Linked DNA regions of Homo sapiens: region 1 is linked to region 2. Evidence: promoter capture Hi-C in 16 types of primary human blood cells and fetal thymus (Javierre and others, 2016). All regions are on one chromosome and are shown on one strand. Each heading gives the region's core, a stretch centred on a gene start or on the middle of the fragment in contact. The rest is flanking DNA. Distances are from core to core; before and after follow the strand shown.

Region 1 (5,014 bases), core at 1,806-4,305, 600 kb after region 2:
TTGAGACCAGCCGGCAACATAGTGAGGCCCTGTCTCTTTAGAATTAAAAAATGTTTAATAATTTAAAAAAAAAGTACACGGGAAAATGCTCCTAATATTAAATGATAAAATCAAGTTATGCAACTACATATTCAATATGCTGTCAATTTTGTGAAAAGAAGAAAAAATTATGTAATAGAAAACAGTCTGAAACAAGATGTACAACTAAATATTTATGTATTTTTTTGACTAGAGGAATTATTATCTCTTCATATTTTTCTGTGTTTTCCAGGCCTTTCTTTGGTATACTTGTATTCCTTTTTATATAAGGGGGAAAACAACCTACTTGAAAAAGCAACAACAAAATAATAACAGCAAAAACCTATTGGTGGGAGCCTGAGTCAGTATTTCTCTACTCATGAGTTTACTCAGTGTTTACCTGAGTGTTTACATTTTTTTCCGATAAAATACATTCTTGATTCCTGCTGTTATTTAGCTCATGGATTATTTCTGAAAAACTAACCAAATTAAGGCAGCTCTGCAGTTATCCTCCACTCCCGCTTACCACTTAGGAGTTTGCTCCATCTTTGGTAGAGCCCCAGGCAGCTGTTGACTTAGACATGGTGAGCTTTTTTATTTCCACTTTTGGGTTCAGTACTGAAGCCCTACTGTTAGAAAGCATTGATTACAATTTGATAAAAGATGGTCTGTCTGTGTTTTCCTTGTGTGCCATGGAATGGCTATTTTTCTGTTTAATTTTATTGTTAAGTGGCTTGAAAAATAGTGTTTTGGACCTGGGGATTCTCATCTGGAGACAAATAGGAAGTGATCCCAGGAGTTTTGGAAATTCCTACAATAGATTGTCAGCTTCTTGAGAGCAGACATGTTGCCTCTTTTAGTTATGCTAGATATTCTTAGCGGGTACCAAGGCACATAGTAGATGCATAAAATATTTGTTGACTGAATAAATTAATAAATTACCAATAAGGGAATTGTTCTTTGAGAATTAAGCTTTAAAAACAACAAAATCAGAGCAGAGATATGGAAAGGCACTTTAAGGAGACCAATGCTTTTGAGACCAACAAGATTGACTAAAATCTTAACAAATATATTAACACATACAAAGAAAGAATGTATACATCTGAAGAGTTATGTGTGCATGTTTGTGGGGGATGCAAGGACCTAATTGGCCCTAGAAATCTGAAACAGGGAGAATCACTGAAGCCAATGTCCTTAGGCCCAGAGCTAACAGTTGGCTATGAAAACTTGTACTGACATTTCCCTACCTCTGGGAAGGAGATTATACAGTTAGTTAATACGTATTTTGAGTACAGAGATAAATTATTCAATTCAGAACCATTTTTTGAGAACTTACTAGGAGTCTGCTTCTAGACTAGGCACCAGGATAATAAAGATTAGTACAATACAATCCTTTCTCTGGAATAACTACCAGTAGCAAGTGAAAAGGTAGAGGCCAGGTGCATTGGCTTATCCTAGCACTTTGAGAGGCTGAGGCAGGAGGATCACCCGAGGCCAGGAGTTCAAGACCAGCCTGGACAACATAGTGAAACCTCATCTCTACAAAAATAAAAAAAATTAGCTGGTGGTGGTGGGCACCTGTAGTCCTAGCTACTCGAAAGGCTGAGATGAGAGGATCACCTGAGCCCGGGAGTTCAAGACTGCAGTGAACTGTGATCATGTCGCTGTACTCCAGTGTGGGTGACAGAGGGAGACCCTGTCTCTTAAAAAAAAAAAAAAAAGATGCAACGCACAGAGTGCTACTGGAACCGTAGGAGAAGCATTTAGCTTGGAGGCAAAGAGGGTGCTCTAAGGAGTTCTTTCTAGAGAAGCATCTTCTAGAGAAGCTGATGCCTGAACAGAGTTGTGAAGGTTGAATTTGAAGGATTCAAAGGGTATTCCCATGCAATGGGAATGCAAGAGCAAAGGCACAAAAGTGAAACAGCCTGGTATATAGAAGAAACTCCACAAGCAGTTTAGCACTACTGGAATATAAAGAGCAAAGCTGGTATGGCAGCTCCAGAAGAGGTAGGTGGTGGCTAGGTCACAAAGGATCTTGTATGCTATGCTAAGAAGCTTCAATTTTAAACTTTTTAGGTAGATGGTCTATAAATTTTTTTCATGATGCACTTTAATCCATTGAAAAATTGAGAATGTACCCCTGTATATAAATTTATACATTATAACACGTAATTTTATACTAATGTCTTATATATGTGTAAGAGATGCCAAAAACAAAATGTTAAAGGGATTGACAGAAGCAAATATGAAGAGTTCTAATATTTTCTTTTCATGCCCGAGGGATTTGTCTTGTGCACCTCTTAAGGCAAACACTATAATACTTTAATGCTAGTATTAAATATAAAACTATTAATACTGTATTAAATATACTATAATACTGGTAAATTTCTGAATAATTTTTGCAGGAGTATAGAAAAGTGGTAATTGTGGAGATGGAGATGGATGGAAAAGGGAGGGAGGTCAGGGTTAGAGGTTAGGGTATCCATTAGCATGTTAATGAAATAGTCCAGGAGAAAGTTGATGAGACTCTGTCTTCAAGGAACCTCTCAGTAATTTCATTCAATACAAACAAGTAGAGGTAGTCCTAAAGAGATGGGTAGAATTTAGATGTTCTGTAGTAGAGAGATTAGAGGAAGTTTTTTTTTTTTTTCGAGACAGAGTCACACTCTGTTGCCCAGGCTGGACTGCAGTGGTACGATCTCAGCTCACTGCAACCTCAGCCTCCAGGGTTCAAGCAATTCTCCTACCCCAGCCTCCCGAGTAGCTGGGACTACAGGGGTGCACCACCACACCTGGCTAATTTTTGTATTTTTAGTAGAGATGGGGTTTTGCCATGTTGCCAGTCTGGTGTCAAACTCCTGGCCTTGAGCATTCTACCCACCTTGGCCTCCCAGAGTGCTGGGATTACAGGCGTGAGCCACTGCACCTGGCCAAGAAGTTTTTTAAAATTGAGATATACCACTATCTAATTCCAGAACTTTTTTCTCACCCCTAGAAGAAGCCCTGTACCCATTAGCAGTCACTCCCTATCCTCTCCTCCCCCAGCTACTAGAAACCACAAATCTGCTTTCTGACTCTATGGATTTGCCTATTCTGGACATTTCATAAATGGAATCGTACAATACGTGGCCTTTTGTGTCTGGCTTATTTCATTTAGCATAATATTTCCAAGGTTCATCCATATCCTAGCAGGTATCAGTACTTCATTTCTTTTTATGGCTGAATAATATTCTGCTTTATGGATATGCCACTTTTGTTTATCCATTCATCAGTTGATGGACATTGGGTTGTTTCTACTTTTTGGCTATTATGAACAATGTTGCTCTTAACATTTATGTATACATTTTTGTGTGAACATATGTTTTTAATTTTCTTGGATATCTGTATATATAAATACATGTATTTACATATAAATAGTACAATTGCTGGATCATGTGTATATATATATATAATGTATATATGTAATTCCACTCCACTATATGTATATATCCAATTGCACTATAGTAAAATATATATGCAATTTATATATAAATATATATGAAATAAATTTATATATAAATGGAATTGCTGGATTATATATAATCACGTATAATATGTATAATTATATGTAATTATATATGTATATATTACATATATAAATAGTGGAATTGCTGGATCATATATATAATATATGTAATAATATATATGATCCAGCAATTCCACTATTTGTATATAAACATGTAATAATATATATATGATCCAGCAATTCCATTATTTATATATGTATATAAATTTATATATAAAATTTCACTTTTATATATATATTTATATATAGGAGTGGAATTGCTGGATGTTATGGTAACTCTTGGTTTAACTTTTTTGAGAAACTGTTTTCTATAGCAGCTGCACCATTTTACATTTCCACCAGTAAAGTATGGGGGTTCCAGTTTCTCTACATCCTTGCCAACACTTGTTATTATTCATCTTTTCTATTATAGTAGAGAAGGTTGTTGAAGGTTAGAAAAATCAAGGAAAGCTTCATGGAGGAAATGGAACTTGGCTTGGGCCTAATACGTATTCAGTTTATAGATGGACAAACTGACACAGTTGGAGACAAGGACTAGAGAAACAACTGGATGGGTATAGATTTCTTCATTCTTTTGTTCATTTTTAAAATTACTTACTCAGTCAATAAATATTTATTGAGGCAGGCACTGTTCTTCGTGAAAGATTGCTGTCCAGTTCCCTGACTTGATCTTTGCAGTCAGTGAAGCTTTCTGAAAGAGTAGACCACATTTGCTATTTCCATTCTCCCACCTTCATCCTCTTCTGAGTTCAGTAAGGTCTGGCTTCTGCCCAAACCTTGGCTTTTGCCAGGGTAACTACTGACCTTCCTAGTTGGACGCCTTTATTTCTTACCTTACTTAACATCTCTACTGCATTTGACACCTTTGATTACCTTCTTGAGACCGTTTCCTCACTTGCCTTAAGTTACACCATGCTTTGTTTTGTCCTCCTCTTAGCCAATGCACAGCACTTTCTTATTATTTTTCCCCCACTCCCTTCTCTCCCTTACATCTTTTGTTTGTCAGGGTTCTGTTTCACCCTTTTTTGTCCCACTTGTGGTCTCCCTGGGCAGTCTCATTCATTCCTCACTTGTAACCTGTGTGCTCACTACTTCCAAATTTATAGCTATTCCTGAGCTCCAGACCACTTAGCCATCTGTACGCTGCACATCTCCAGCCAAGATGTCTCATGGCTACCTCTAACTTAGTATCGCAAAACTGAACCTGTGATCTTTTACCCCCTTTCTTTTCCTTTATTCCCTATAACCATGAAAAGACCACCTCTAGCCATATTCTGAGGTTGAAATCCCTGAGTCATTTTTCTTTTTTTTCAAGGCACAGTCTTGCTCTGTCGCCCAGGCTGGAGTACAGTGGCACAATCTTGGCTCACTGCAACCTCTGCCTCTCAGGTTCAAGCGATTCTCCTGCCTCAGCCTCCTGAGTAGCTGGGA
Region 2 (4,802 bases), core at 1,324-3,823:
ATAGGCACCCATTCTCACTCCCACCCCAGCCTCAAGGCACTGCCCCAGCCTCAAGGGACTGCAGCAACACGGGGTCTCTAACCAGCACCGGCCTTCCTGGGGGGCCTCAGCTCCCAGGGCCCACTCCCTGTGGCTGGTGATGCCAGCTGCCCCTCCCTGTCCAGCTCTTGGGGAGGCGGGGAACTCAGATACAGGACTAAATAGATTCAACCCTTTGGGTTCCCAGGAGAGAGTCTTTGTCTAGAGCCCCTGATAGGAACAGAAAGCTATCCCTTGTGTTGTTTTCTAGGGAGAAGGAGAAGAGGGTGGTGAGGGGACATCTGGTGTTCCTAAATGTCCTGGCACCTAGAAGTGGTAAGGAGGGTTGGGATTTGGGAATGATGGAAACCATACTGAGAATCCTTGGAACAGCTGTCTAAGGAGTTTTGTTGTTGTTGTTGTTGTTTTGAGACAAGGTTTCAGTTCTGTCACCCAGGCTGGAGTGCAGTAGTGCAAACATGGCTCACTGCACCCTCCACCTCCTGGGCTCAAGCAATCTTCCCACCTTAACCTTCCTAGTAGCTGGGGGCCAGAGGTGCACACCACAATGCTCAGCTGGTTGTTGTTTTTTTTAATTTTTATTTATTTTTGTTAAAAAAGTAAATAAACAAAAGAGTGGCTATTTCATAACAGAACAGCCTTTTTAAAAATTATTTTTTATGGAGATGGGGGTCTCACTATGTTGCCCAGGCTGGTCTCAAACTCCTGGGCTAAAGTGTTCCTCCTGCCTTTGCCTCCCAATGTGCTGGGGTTACTGGCATGAGCCACTGTGCTCGGCCTAAGAAGCCTTTAAGAACCTATCTGAGTGAGGAGGGGATCATATAGATCAACCTGAGATGGCCCCCACCCCCACTGTTCATTCAGGACTAATGACACTGCAAGTCCCAAAGAGAAAGAGACGCCAAGAGGAGGAATCCCAGGCAGAGAGAGGCAAAATCTCGGAGGCTGTTGGACAGGCAGGGAAAGGCTCCACCTCCACTCTCTCTAGAACCGCCCTGCTTGACAGCAGGCAGGGTGGGGTTGGGTGGCTGGCTGTGAGTGTGACTCAGGTTTCTGTGGGCAGCCAAGGGCAGCCGGCAGGGAGGAGCCCAGACCGACAGACCGGCTGGCCAACTGCAGCTTTCACCTCAGCTGTCCTCTGTCCTGGGAATGCAGAGGGCTCTTGTCTAGCTGAGCTGGCCCTTGGGGGCTAGTTGACTCCTGCTTTCCTCCCCCAACCCCAACCAACCCTCAAGTTCCTTCCCAGAGCCCTCGGCCCTTGGCTCCCTCCCCTGTGGCATTACACAGGATGGAGAGTGAGGGGTCACTGCCTCTAGGGAGGAAACAGAATGTCTGGGGAAAAGGGTATAATAATGATTGGTCCTGCACCCTGAGGGAGGGACTGGGGGAACCCTGGGCACCAGCTTGCAGCCTCAGCGGCCCCCCAGCCCTCCCTAGCCTGGCTGGCTCGTGTCTGGACAGGCTGGTTGTCATGGTGAGGGCTAGGGGCCAGAATGCAGCTGCTACAGTCAGGCTACCAGGCCTAAGTGAACAGAGAGTGCTCAGGGACCCCCCAGCCCAGCTTCCTCAGAGTTGACCAGCTGAGAGACCGCGGGAGCTGAAACCAAAGAGCTGTGGTCAGGGACTATAGACTTCCCCTTGGTGATGGGTGAGAGTTCAGCCAGCACATTCCCTTCGTGTTTCTGGTGCCTGTTTGTTGGCTTGTTTTTGGAGGGTGGCTGGAAGGGAATACACGTTTCTTTTATGCCTTTTATGCGCCCAAGTGCTGGGCATGCGTGGCTCACCAGTCTTTACAACAACTGAGAGAGATTTAGCAACTTGCCTAAAATGGCAAAGCTGGGATTAGAACTCAGAACTGACGGCCACGACAGTTAGTGATCTTTGTTTTCTGGGAACCAGGCAGTGTAGCTGTTCTAGGGGGAGGGAGGGGGAGAAAGTGACTTGAACTTTACCTAAAAGACTGGATATTCCATCACGAGGCCACAGGTGGTAGAAGGCAGGTGCTGGCATCATTTGGGGTTTGGCAGTCTGAAGAGAAAGACACTAGCGAAATGCTTGGCACATAGTAGGTCATTAAATATTTTTCTAATGAAGAAGCCAATTCTGTGTGAGTCATTGCTAGTTTTCTGGGACATCTTGGGAGCTTCTGGAGCTGAATCGCAACAGCGGAAGACGCTAGCTCGAAAGAGGGACTTTCCAAGACCAACCCCGGCGAGAGAGGAATTTGTGGAGCATCATCTCTGAGCCGGGCGCGGGGGGAGGGGGACAAGGAGGAAGCGTGTGTGTGACCCAGGATTACCGAAGGCTGCGGACGCCACCCAGCGGCCAGGATGCTGCCCAGCGCAAGCTGGGCTCTACCAGGCAGGCGCGCGCGGAGCACTCCGGGAGTTGTAGTTGACTGTGTTAAGAGGCGGTGCTGCCAAAGGGGCTGTTGGGTGTTGTAGTCTGACGTTTGTTGGGCGGGAGTTGCCCACGTCGGCCGGACCACTAGTCCCGTGGTGCCCCGCGGGAGGCCGCGCAGGCGCAGTGAGTCAGTGCCGGTCGGTCTTGTGGGCTGAGGGGCAGCGGCTTAGGCTCCGGCGTCTGCAGGGGTCGCCGAGCTAACCCGTGGCTAGGCGAGTGGGGCGGGGCGGCCGGCACCATGTCGAGGCAGGCGAACCGTGGCACCGAGAGCAAGAAAATGGTAACTTGGAGCGCGTGACCTCGGCGGGCGGGGCGAAATTGAGGCGTACAGGGAAGGGGCCCGGCGCCGAGCGCGAGGTGCGTTTGGAAAAGGGCCTTCCTGTGAGCTCTGGCAAGGGGAAGCCTCTTGCTGGGTCACTCCGGGGGCGTTCCAGGCAGGTGAGGGGACCGTCGGAGAAGTTCCCCGGAGGAGACCCCGCCCCCAAGGCCTGAGTGCAGCTCTGTGCTAAGCCAACAACAACGACGGTAATAAATACCAATAACTGCCACTTAACTTCTCTCTTACTATGTGTTGGGCACCGGGCCACGCACGTTACAGCATCTCAGTTAATCTGCAGAGTAGCCCCTATCAGATGGATAACATTGCCGTTTTACAGCTTGGAGAGCTTACGTAATTTGCCCATATTTACACCTGGGAAGTTAGGATTTGGACCCGTGTTTAACTCCAAAGCTAATGCTAGGAGCTGACTGTTAGGCTTTACTCTTAGGCTACAGTGTCTCGTACTGTGGCGTGGGTATTGTGAGAGATGTTCAGATACTGGTCGTGCCAGAAAGGAACGTTTTATTCAATGGAATAAGAGATGGGCCAGAGTAAGCAGTGAGTGGTGCCCCTCTAATGGAGTGGGTGGCTCCCTTCTTTCCCAGGGAATAGTTTGGACACCATATGGTCCTATAAAGTTGGACTAGGGGCTGGGGCTGCAGACTTAGGTCATTTTTCTTTCGTTCTTCCCTCCCTCCCCCCGCCCCCAGACGAAATCTCTGTCACCCGGGGTGGAGTGCAGTGGCACTAACTTGGCTCACTGCAACCTCTGCCTCCCAGGTTCAAGCAGTTCTTCTGCCTCAGCCTCCCGAGTAGCTGGGATTACAGGTGTCCACCACCACGCCTGGCTGATTTTTGTATTTTTAGTAGAGATGGGGTTTCACCATGTTGGCCAGGCTGGTCTCGAACTCCTGACCTCAGGTGATCCGCCTGTCTCGGCCTCCCAAAGTGCTGGGATTACAGGCGTGAGCCACTGCGCCTGACCAATTTTTGTATTTTTAGTAGAGACGGGGTTTCACCATGTTGGCCAGCCTGGTCTCGAACTCGTGGCCTTAAGTGATCTGCCTGTTCAGGCTCCCAAAGTGCTGGGATTACAGGGGTGAGCCACCACACCCGGCCAAAAGACGAGAATATTTTGTTAGGAAACAATGTCAGGTAAGGGGAAACACATGGACCTTGGTTGGAATTCTGACTTACTTGATTGATCTTCAATTTCTTTATCTATAAAATGGGGATAGTAATGTCTACCTAATATTAAATGGGATGGTGTAAAATGTGAGGGGCATGGTAAATGTTTCTTTCTCCTTTTCCTATGAGATGAGTAGAGGTCTTCCTGGTTAGTTTTTGTACTTTGCTCTCATTTTATCCATTTTTTAAGCCTGAAATCAATATTGAAATCTTTAACAAAAATCTGCAGACTCTACCCCCAGCCCCCAGTATTCTTCGTTTCAGTGAAGTAAGGTAATTAGGGAGGGGCAGCAGCATACTCCTGCCCTCAAGGCTCTTGGAACTCCCTTCTTCTAGATAGTCACTTAGCCCACTCCTGCCTTCATTCATAGTTACTCAAATGTCACCTCCTTTGAGAGGCCTTCCCTCCTGATTACCTGCCTAATTCTCTAACCTCTAACTCTATGCTGGTTGTCTTCATAGCACTGTCTATTTAATTTTAAATGATATACCCAGGCTGGAGTGTAGTGGCATGATTGAGGCTCATCCAGCCTGACCTCCCGAGTTCAAGCAGTCCTCCCGCCTCAGCCTCCCAAGTAGCTGGTACTATAGGTGTGCACCACCATGCCTGGCTAATTTTTTTTTTTTTTTGTAGAGCTAGGGGTCTCCCTGTGTTGCCCAGGTTGGTCTCGAGGTCTCGAACTCCTGGGCTCAAGCAGTCCCTCCAACTCTGCTTCACAAATTACTGGGATTGCATCTGTGTTCCATTTAAGCTTGCCAAGACCTAAATTGTTTTGTTTTGTGTTTTGAGACAGAGTCTCGCTCTGTCACCTAGGCTGGAGTGCAGTGGCCCGATCTCAGCTCACTGCAGCCT

The links. Contacts are between HindIII fragments. The CHiCAGO score rates a contact against its expected background, and 5 or more counts as called.
Region 1: a fragment that was not itself captured here is called in contact with the fragment with the promoter of TRAPPC3 in region 2 in 1 of 17 cell types (neutrophils); the score reaches 5.1 in neutrophils.

The regions. Positions count from the first base shown.
Region 1 is chr1:35,545,776-35,550,789 of GRCh38, reverse strand. The region is part of intron 2 of KIAA0319L (KIAA0319 like); the gene reads left to right. Among named protein-coding and RNA genes, the nearest start is that of KIAA0319L, 9.1 kb to the left of the region's middle. The HindIII fragment of the contact is 1,960 bases long and covers 2,076-4,035 here.
Region 2 is chr1:36,147,257-36,152,058 of GRCh38, reverse strand. It overlaps TRAPPC3 (trafficking protein particle complex subunit 3), which reads left to right and starts at 2,573. Exons shown (of 5, transcript NM_014408.5): 1 at 2,573-2,722. The coding sequence starts at 2,681. RefSeq lists enhancers at 2,020-2,679, 2,810-2,889, 2,243-2,903. The HindIII fragment of the contact is 15,390 bases long and covers 1-4,703 here.